Linked DNA regions of Homo sapiens: regions 1 and 2 are each linked to region 3. Evidence: promoter capture Hi-C in 16 types of primary human blood cells and fetal thymus (Javierre and others, 2016). All regions are on one chromosome and are shown on one strand. Each heading gives the region's core, a stretch centred on a gene start or on the middle of the fragment in contact. The rest is flanking DNA. Distances are from core to core; before and after follow the strand shown. Region 1 holds the start of BRK1 (BRICK1 subunit of SCAR/WAVE actin nucleating complex). Region 2 overlaps SETD5 (SET domain containing 5). Region 3 holds the start of TADA3 (transcriptional adaptor 3).

Region 1 (3,178 bases), core at 112-2,611, 320 kb before region 3:
CCTGGGCTCAAGCAATCCTCCCACCTTGGCCTCCCAAAGTGCTGGGATTACAGACATAAGCCATTGAACTCAGCCACGATTATAGTCCTAAACACCCTGTATGAAAATACTTTAATACAAAAATGATGCTCTTCTTTGTCCTGAAGTTGTCATTATTTCATCTTCAAGATTAGAACTTCTTTGAATGTAGGAAGTGGTTCTTATTCTGTGTCTCCCACTATGCCTTAAGAGAGGGCCTCATATGGAGCTCTAGCATCTCTCGCTGATGCTTTCTGACAATCTCTTGCTCTGTCACCTTTGTACTCCTAAGGCCATCAGTCCTTTAGTTAGAGAATCATTCATTTAAAAATCTTTCCAAAGTACACTAGTCCCTATATCCTGTAATTACACAAGAAAGTCTAACCAGTGCCAAGTTCTGTTAAACACTTGGAGAAGAAGGGGTAGGAATCTCGATTGCTTTGCTTGCTGTTCATAAGGAAGAATTTAAGGCTGTCACAAGCAGGCCATGCCTAGGAAAGATTCTGGTAAAGATATCTTTCTGCTGAAGGCACCCGACCTGTGTTAGCTCTGAGGAATGGGCTAGAAGCAGACAGAACACCTACCATAAGCTATATATACTAGCAATACAGAGAGGACTTCCAAGGTCCTACAAGATCCTGGCATCCCTCTGACCTCATCTCCCACCACTCTCACCGCAGCAGACACAGGAAACAGGAAGGAATGGACAAGACGGGAGTGGTTGACAACGGGTCCAACTAAAAGGCACGACGCTAGAGGGTATCGACCAGATCCTGAAGATGGGGAACGGTCAACAGTCTTGAAACAGAGGAGTGACACGGTCCCGGATGCTCACTTTGAGTGCAAAGTGGGGACCGGAATGGATGCAGAGTACAAAGGAGGCAGGGAGACCACTTAGGAGAAGAACCACGGAGCGAGGATGGGGCTGCCTGACGCGTCTAGGAGAAGGACTTGTAGAATGGATCCAGAGGGATGGCAGGAAGCCATGAGCTCAGCGTAGGGCAGGATAACCCTACAGAGACTGTCTACGGGAGCCTGAGGGTCAGGGCGGGAGGGAGAAGGTGGGACCTGAAGGAGGAAGTGAAAACCCGCAACAGCCGAAGGCTGCGGGAGTCCTCTCAAAGCATCTCCCCGGCGCCCCAGCCCAACCACCTCAGCGGCCTCCCTCCTCCCCGCCTCCCCTTGCTGGCCCGCTGACCGAACGAGTTGAGAAAGTCTGCGATTTTCTTGATGCTGCTGGTGATTATCTCAATGTACTCCCGGTTAGCCCAGTCCTGGTGAATCTCCCGCTGCACCGGATCCTCCTGTCCCGCCATGGCCGCCGCCTGAGGAAGAGCGACTGCGCAGGCGCCCCGACCCTACAGGCCTCTAGTGCGCCTGCGCTGCCAGGCCACACCCATCCTCTTGAGCACCCACGAATTCTCGGGCACTATGATAGGCCTGTGCAACGTCACGTCCTCGCCGGCGTTTGCTCTCTACTCCCACGCTATAGAACACAGAAGCCTGGACGCCGGCGGCGAGGTTGTAGTGCACGCGCGTTATGGTCGTTACACGGCGCGTGGGGTCTTGCCGTCTCCCTCAACTGCTCCAGGCTCAGGTTGCGCACTCAGTGTCCGCAGTGAGATGGGCACAGTCGATTAAATCACATTAAATACAAGTCTTTTTTTTTTTTAGACGGAGTCTAAAAAATAATATGGTCATAAATAGCTGGGCACACTGCAAACTGGAACAGTCCCTTTCAGAAGGAAATTTGTGTTTTTGTGTTGTTTTTTGAGACAAGGTTTTTTCTTGTTTTTTGTTTTTTTGAGACGGAGTCTTGCTCTGTCGCCCAGGCTGGAGTGCAGTGGTGTGATCTCGGCTCACTGCAACCTCCGCCTCCCAGGTTCAAGCTATTCTCCTGCCTCAACCTCCCGAGTAGCTGGAATTACAGGCGCACACCACCACGCCCGGCTAATTTTTTTGTATTTTTAGTTGAGATGGTGTTTCACCATGTTGGCCAGACTGGTCTCGAACTCCTGACTTCAGGCAATCCGCCCGCCTCGGCCTCCCAAAGTGCTGGGATTACAGGTGTGAGCCACCTCGCCCAGCCTGAGACAAGGTCTTACTGTCGCCCAGGCTGGAATGCAATGGCATGATCATGGCTCACTGCAGCCTCGAACTCCTGGGCTTGAACTCCTGGGCTCAAGCTATCCTCCAGCCTCAGCCTCTGGTGTAGTTGGGACTACAGGCTCACGTCACCACGCCTGGCTAATTTGTGTATTTTTTGTAGACACGGGGTTTCACCATGTTGGCCAGGCTGGTCTCGAACTGACAGGTGATCTACCCACCTCGGCCTCCCAAAGTGCTGGGATTATACGCATGAGCCACCATGCCCGGCCTATTATGCAGTCATTTAAATGCTAATTATGAACACAAGCAACATGAAAACACATACAATAAATTGAGGGGAAAAACAAAATACCCTCCCTCCCTCCCTTCCTTCCTTCCTTTTCTTACTTTTTTTTTTTAAGACAGAGTTTCTCTGTTAATGCCCAGACTGGAGTGCAATGGCACGATCTTGGCTCACTGTGACCTCTGCCTCCCGGGTTCAAGTGATTCTCCTGCCTCAGCCTCCCAAGTAGCTGGGATTACAGGTGCCCGCTACCACACCTGGCTATTTTTTGTATTTTTTAGTAGAGACGGGGTTTCAGCATGTTGGTCAGGCTGGTCTCCAACTCCTGACCTCAAGTGATCTGCCCACCTCGGCCTCCCAAAGTGCTGGGATTACAGACATGAGCCACCCTGCCTGGCCCACATTTTTCTTTAATTGCAACTATGGAAAAATGTATGTTTGAGGACAAGAAGGATCTACAAAAAAAGTCACTATCTGCTTTGCTAAGGTAGTGGAATATGAACAACTTTATTCTCATTTCAGGGAATACTTACAATCTGGCATGCAGTAAATGCTCTTTTTTTTGAGACAGTCTTGTTCTGTTGCTCTGGCTGGAGTGCAGTGGCTCGATCTCGGCTCACTGCAACCTCTGCCTCCCGGGTTCAAGCAATTCTGCCTCAGCTTCTCAGGTAGCTGGGACTACAGGCGCACACCACCACACACAGCTAATTTTTTTTTTTTTTTACCAGAGATGGGGTTTCACCATGTTGGTCAGGCTGGTCTCAAACT
Region 2 (3,017 bases), core at 27-2,526, 320 kb after region 3:
CTTCAAATTACGTTATCTTAGAATCTTTAACAACTGAGGAGAGAGAGCTTTACTTTCCTAACAAGCTAGAGTCAAAACACCAAGAAAATCTCTAATATACTAGTGGAATAAAACCTTTTTCAGTTTCATATTAACCTGTGAACTACTACTGATTCAGAACTTAGTAGACTGTCACTGAATTATGCCCTAATTTTTTATTGGAAGGGGATAGGGTTAAAGTTCAGTTGACTATTTCTGAGAGACTCTAACTTTCTCTTCAAGAGAAAAAAGGTCCCATGTATTAATAGATTCAGAGTTAATGTTACTAAATCTGAAAGCTTATAATAGAAACTCTAGCACTAAAATCTGAGTTTGACATATCCACAGCAGTAGGGTTTGTGAGAAAACCACTCTACTGATATCCTAAAGAGATAACACTTGTATAGCAACCATATCCTAACCATTGCAGAATGGTGGCCTGTGACAGAAAGCCAGGGACTCACTTGGTTTCCTTGTGCACCCAGTAAGGAGCTGCAGAGAAAATGTAGGAAAGCTGAAAGACAGAATGACTTTCCCTTCCTGAAGAAGCTGCTCAATCTATCAACCAAAGGTCAAAACATCTGGTTTACAGAGCTGTTAGATTAACCCTAGAACAAGGCATAAGTCACCACCCAACTCAAAAAACAGCTCTTACAACTTTTGACTCAACTTTCCTGATTTATTAGCCTTTCTTTAACAAGGCTCCTACCACATATCAGCATCTTGACTTCTAGATTCTATTCTTTAATAGAACTCCAGCCACCCCCTCCCCCAAACGGCAAAAACCAACCCCACCAAACACACACACAACACACACACACACAAACACACACGCTCCTACCTTCATTTTCCTCCATCTACATTGACAGTCCTGTGTAGTCACAGTCACACAGGAAGACTCATTCAACTTACTGTGACTGAGTGGCCGCCCTCCAGCCCATCACCCCACTGACTCAGATCCCCAGCCCTCCCCACACACTCAGGAACACATTCATGAACACTCACTCTCAGCCTCCAAGTGTGATTGAGATGGTGTGATAACTACCTCGGGTGACAGGGACTCGGGCCTATGCGCAGGGGAACTCTCAGGGGAGGATATGTTCTAGAGGAGGGAAAAGCATCTTGTTATTATTCATCTACTCGAAGTCAAGAAGCAAAACAAAACAAAAAATAAAAGCAAGCATAGATGTTAGCCATAACTTTTTTCGGGGGCGGGGAAGTTGAATAAGAATGCATAGGGGAAATATTTAACTGCAGAACTCATCTCAATGGACAGAATGACTTGTTAAAATGCTTCCTGGTATCTCTGAAAGCATTTAAGGATAAATTGGTTATAATGTTTCATGCTGTAAGTAAACATCTCAAGCACATACAAGGAAAGAGTTAGACTGGTGAAATTTTAGTGTTATACGTCTTTGTATTTTAGATGAGAGTTTAGCAACCTACAGTATTTGTTATTGAGGGGCACCCTACCCCTTATTCCTCCTTACATGGACCTTGTTCCTTCATCCAATGCCTCTTCTGCTTGTCACATTTCTTTATTCTCTTATATGCCTCAGGCCCTCCCAGTGCTATCCAGGGGGAGACATTAGTGTGCTGGGGGCTGACATGGTTAGGGAGATGGCCAGTTCCTCTTGAATGACAGTTACAGGAAATGTGATTGATGGAATCCCTAGCTCACAGGCTAGAGTTGGTTCTTGGCATAATCTAATTAGACCTGAGCCACCCCTATTAATGTTATTTTGTAAAATCCATTGTACTTTTGGCAACAGAGCAGAAAAAGCATGTATGTGTATACTTAGGTCCCTGTATCCTACAGAGGGTAGGACTTTACCTTGGGACTTTCAGGTGAGGCAGCAGTCCCATAACAGAGACTGAGCAGTGAGTGCTTAATGGAAAGATGTAAATGGGAACACGTGAAGAGAGTGAAGGTGGTAGTGTGACAATGACTCAGGGGTGCTAGGGCTGAGGTAAGGAGAGGGTGCCTAATGTAGACTCTGAATAACTGTGGCCTAGGTGGCAGGCACATGCTGAGGTAGGGGAAATGAGGCTGCTTCAGCAAAGCAGGGTTTTGGCTGTGAATTTTACTTGGCATGGACAGTGGGTGGTGTACATCTAGGTGCACGTATGTGTGAAATGGCGGGTGGAGTATGGCTCTCAGGGCAAGAATAGGAGGGGAGGGTTATTCTGGTAGAAAGGAGAGGCTAACTAAGCTTGTCCTCCCAATGTTGCTTCCACTCTTCTTTCTAGATGCTTTCCCCTCCTGAAGATCTTGTTCTCTTCCACTGTTTATCTTCTTACCTTCTTCCCCTTAGCACTTAAGACTTCTCACCATTTTCCTGAATGCTTTTTTCCTTCTCAAAAATATCCTTCCCCAAACTAATCTAGTAAGGTTGTTTTTTTTTTTTTTTTTTTTTTTTTGAGAGAGAGTCTCCCTCTGTTGCCCAGGCTGGAATGTGGAATGCAGTGGCGCAGTCTTGGCTCCCTGCAACCTCCCAGGCTCAAGCAATTCCTTTGCCTTGGCCTCCCGAGTAGCTGGGATTACAGGTGTGTGCCACTGTACCTGGCCTAAGCTGGTCTTTAAATTATTTTTAGAGATGGGATCTCACTGTTGCCCAGGCTGGCATGTAGTGGCACAATAATGGCTCACTGCAGTCTTAAACTCCTGGTCTTAAGTGATCTTCCTGCTTCAGCCTCCCAAGTAGCTGGGACTACAGGTATATGCCACTACACCTGGCTAAGTTTTGTATTTTATTTTTGCAGAAATGTGGTCTCACGATGTTACCCAGGCTGGTCTCAAACCCCTGGCCTCAAGCAATCCTCCTGCCTCAGCCTTCCAAAGCACTGTGATTACAGGTGTGAGCCACCATGCCCAGCCTAAGCTGGTCTTTATACGTGACACCTTTTTGATATTTCACAATGTGTCACAGCCTTTGCTACAAAAAAGGCTCCCCACCTCTCTGTACTAGAATACAGCAAAGAGTATGGCCATTAAAATG
Region 3 (2,843 bases), core at 127-2,626:
TATCACCAGGGAAGGTGTGACGAAGAGGGAGATGGTCATCCAAAGTCACAACTCCCAGGAATGCCCACACGTATGAAAAAGGCCCACATGTATGAAAAAGGCCCACATGTATGAAAAAGGGAGGACTTCCAGGAAGGGAGGGATGAGCAGTATCACAGCTAACATACACTAAGGCTGACACAGTTCAGTTCTGACCAGGAAGGGCCTGAATGGAAGCAACACGAGAGATCCTCCAATGGGGTGGAAGCAGGGCTGGAGGTACCAAGAATGGGATAAGGAAGTGTGGCCGCCTGCCTTAAGCAACTGTAGGGTCAGGAAGGCAGAAGAGGACAAAGGGCGTATGTCGTGAAGTTCCACTGTGGATAGGCAGGTGGACTTGCTTCATGCCTCAGAGGCTAAGAGGCCGACTACGTACCCTCGAAATGCTCCAAAGAGCCTAGGAGACCCCACTTCCGGGTTCCTACAGGGCTCAGGAAAAGCCCCTACCTGCTTCGAAGGCTGACCGTGAAGCCACAAGGCCCACTTCATACCAGGGAGTACCCCCACTCGCCCCTTCCTCACCTCGGGCCCCCGCCCCGTCTCTTTTTCCCACCCTCATCGTGTCCCCACAACCCCCGGACATCCCTCGGCCCCGCGCCCCTGCGGCAAAGCCACATCTCCCACCGACCCACTGCCCTGAGGCCGAACAGCCGGGGGTCCCTGGCCGGGGGCCCGGCTCTCTCACCATCGCGGGCGCTGGCTGGGCCGGAAAGCGGAAGTACGGAAGTGGCCAGCCCCGCGATGCCTGCCCTTTCGCGAGAAGCGCAGCTACGGTCTCCGCCCGGACTTCCGGACGGTACCATCTATGCTCCGAGCGGGGTAGAGAGCCCTTACGAACGCTTGGGCCTTCCGGAAGTTTTCCACCTAGGGCTGTCTCGGTATTTTTAAATTCTTGCACTCGAGTCACTATTTAAGCTCCTCCAGGAATGGGTGCAGCTTCCCTTTGTGCCTTCGGCCTTCTTGTCACCTTTGCCACAGCCTCCCCCAGGTATGCAATGGTACAGCCCAGCTTCAGATTGGGCACCAAATTAGGACAAGCCGAAGCGGACGAGCCCTTCGTTTCTTCCGGTTCTGTACCCCCATCCTTTCTCTCGCCCCTCCTACCCGCAGCTCCTGGCGCTCGGCGGGGCTAACTGCAGCGCGGAGATCTCGGCCGCCAAGCTCCGCCTCCCGCCCCGGGCTGTGCCCCGGGGCTCGCCTGAGGCCGACCACCCGCACCCCACCTCTAGCGGCTTTGCTCGAGGCCCACCTTCTTCCCACCCCCGGCAAACTCCAGTAGGCTCGCCCTCGCTGACTCCCCGCCCCCGCGTCAACTGCAAGGGGCCCGCCCATAGCCAGTTCCGGGGCGGTTGCTCACATCGACCGGAACTCCCCGCCCCCTCCCGCGGCCCCTGGGGCCGTAGGAGGCCGCAGCGAGGAGGTAGAGGGGGCGGGGGTCGCACTAGGGTGTCCCTAGAGAACGAGGACTCTGAAGGCGGGACATTTGGGCGACCCCCGGGCGGGGCCAGCCATTAAACAGTCCCACTTCTGTGCCAGACACTGAACTGGGCTCTTGACGGGCATCATCTCTTAATCCTCAGAACATCCCAGGGAGGTAGGTACTATTGTTATCCCCATTTTTCAGATTCAGACTTTTAATGGGGAAACAGACCGAGACTTCTTTTGTCCCCATTTTACAGATGGAAAAACTGAGACTGAAAAAGGTCAAATAACATGTTCAGGGGCATATAAGTAGAGAATGGTAAAGCCTGGGCTTGAACCCAGGTCTGTCTGGCTTACCAGCCCACGTTCTAAACCACTGTTAGTGACTAGAGAAGGGAGAAAGGTGGAATAGGGTAAGAAAAGAGGCCAAGAGTCCCAGAGAACATGGTAAGAATGGGGTGCTTGGAACTCAAAGTCTTAGCAGAACCCAAGAGAAATAGAAGGGAAGGAAAGAGCATCAGAAAGGCGAGGCAAGGCATAGCAGTATAGCATGGTGATCAGGGTGCAGACTCAAGACTAGCGGGGTTCAAATTGCATCTTGGAAGCATAGGCACATACCCACCCTTACAGAGTCTCAGTTTCTTTCTCTGTAAAAACGAGATCACAATGGTCCTTGTTCATGGTGCTGAGTGAGAAATTCAGTGAGATAAACTGATAAAGTGCTCTGCACCTAGCTTGGTACCCAGTTAAGTGCCCTGTGAGTAGGAACTGTGCCATCAATTTTGTCAGTAAGGGACTGAAGCTGGGCTTCCTTGAGGCTGTCCCTGGAGGTAAGAAGCCCTTGGGCTTTTCTCAGACCACTTTGTCTCCCATCAATGGCCCTGTCCTCTCCAGCTCCACAGGATCCCCATATCCTGGGCCATGAGTGAGTTGAAAGACTGCCCCTTGCAGTTCCACGACTTCAAGTCTGTGGATCACCTGAAGGTCTGTCCCCGCTACACGGCAGTGCTGGCACGCTCTGAGGATGATGGCATCGGCATCGAGGAGCTGGACACCCTGCAGCTGGAGCTGGAGACCCTGCTGTCTTCTGCCAGCCGGCGCCTGCGTGTGCTTGAGGCCGAAACCCAGGTGATAACCCCAGAGAGGGGCCAGCACCAGAGATGGACTGCAACAAGTTATGGGATGGGTCATTGAGTTAGCCCCATATGCTGAGACTTGGGGTACAGGGGTTTGTGGGGAGAGGGAGAGAGACGCAAACTGGGTTTGCATGACACAAAAAATACACAAGAATATGCATGATCCTCTTAAATTGCAAGATTTCTAATTCAGTAAGCTTTTATTGGCACCCCACTCATCCCCCATTGTGTTCTGGGTCCTATGCT

The links. Contacts are between HindIII fragments. The CHiCAGO score rates a contact against its expected background, and 5 or more counts as called.
Region 1: the fragment with the promoter of BRK1 here is called in contact with the fragment with the promoter of TADA3 in region 3 in 12 of 17 cell types (activated CD4 T cells, fetal thymus, non-activated CD4 T cells and 9 more); the score reaches 14.8 in activated CD4 T cells.
Region 2: a fragment that was not itself captured here is called in contact with the fragment with the promoter of TADA3 in region 3 in 1 of 17 cell types (neutrophils); the score reaches 5.4 in neutrophils.

What each region holds. Positions count from the first base shown.
Region 1 is chr3:10,113,858-10,117,035 of GRCh38, reverse strand. It overlaps BRK1 (BRICK1 subunit of SCAR/WAVE actin nucleating complex), which reads right to left and starts at 1,361. Exons shown (of 3, transcript NM_018462.5): 1 at 1,217-1,361. The coding sequence starts at 1,334. RefSeq lists enhancers at 764-813, 1,264-1,553. The HindIII fragment of the contact is 6,229 bases long and covers 1-3,178 here.
Region 2 is chr3:9,466,622-9,469,638 of GRCh38, reverse strand. All of the region lies in intron 18 of SETD5 (SET domain containing 5), which reads right to left. Among named protein-coding and RNA genes, the nearest start is that of SETD5, 71 kb to the right of the region's middle. The HindIII fragment of the contact is 1,914 bases long and covers 320-2,233 here.
Region 3 is chr3:9,791,006-9,793,848 of GRCh38, reverse strand. It overlaps TADA3 (transcriptional adaptor 3), which reads left to right and starts at 1,376. Exons shown (of 9, transcript NM_006354.5): 1 at 1,376-1,633; 2 at 2,356-2,589. The coding sequence starts at 2,383. ARPC4-TTLL3 (ARPC4-TTLL3 readthrough) reads right to left here and starts at 1,301. Exons shown (of 12, transcript NM_001198793.1): 1 at 725-1,301. The coding sequence starts at 727. ARPC4 (actin related protein 2/3 complex subunit 4) reads right to left here and starts at 767. Exons shown (of 6, transcript NM_005718.5): 1 at 725-767. The coding sequence starts at 727. It also overlaps a transcript of OGG1 not described here. RefSeq lists enhancers at 102-191, 391-917, 892-991, 918-1,444, 2,549-2,843 and silencers at 1,122-1,411, 1,472-1,561. The HindIII fragment of the contact is 10,858 bases long and covers 1-2,796 here.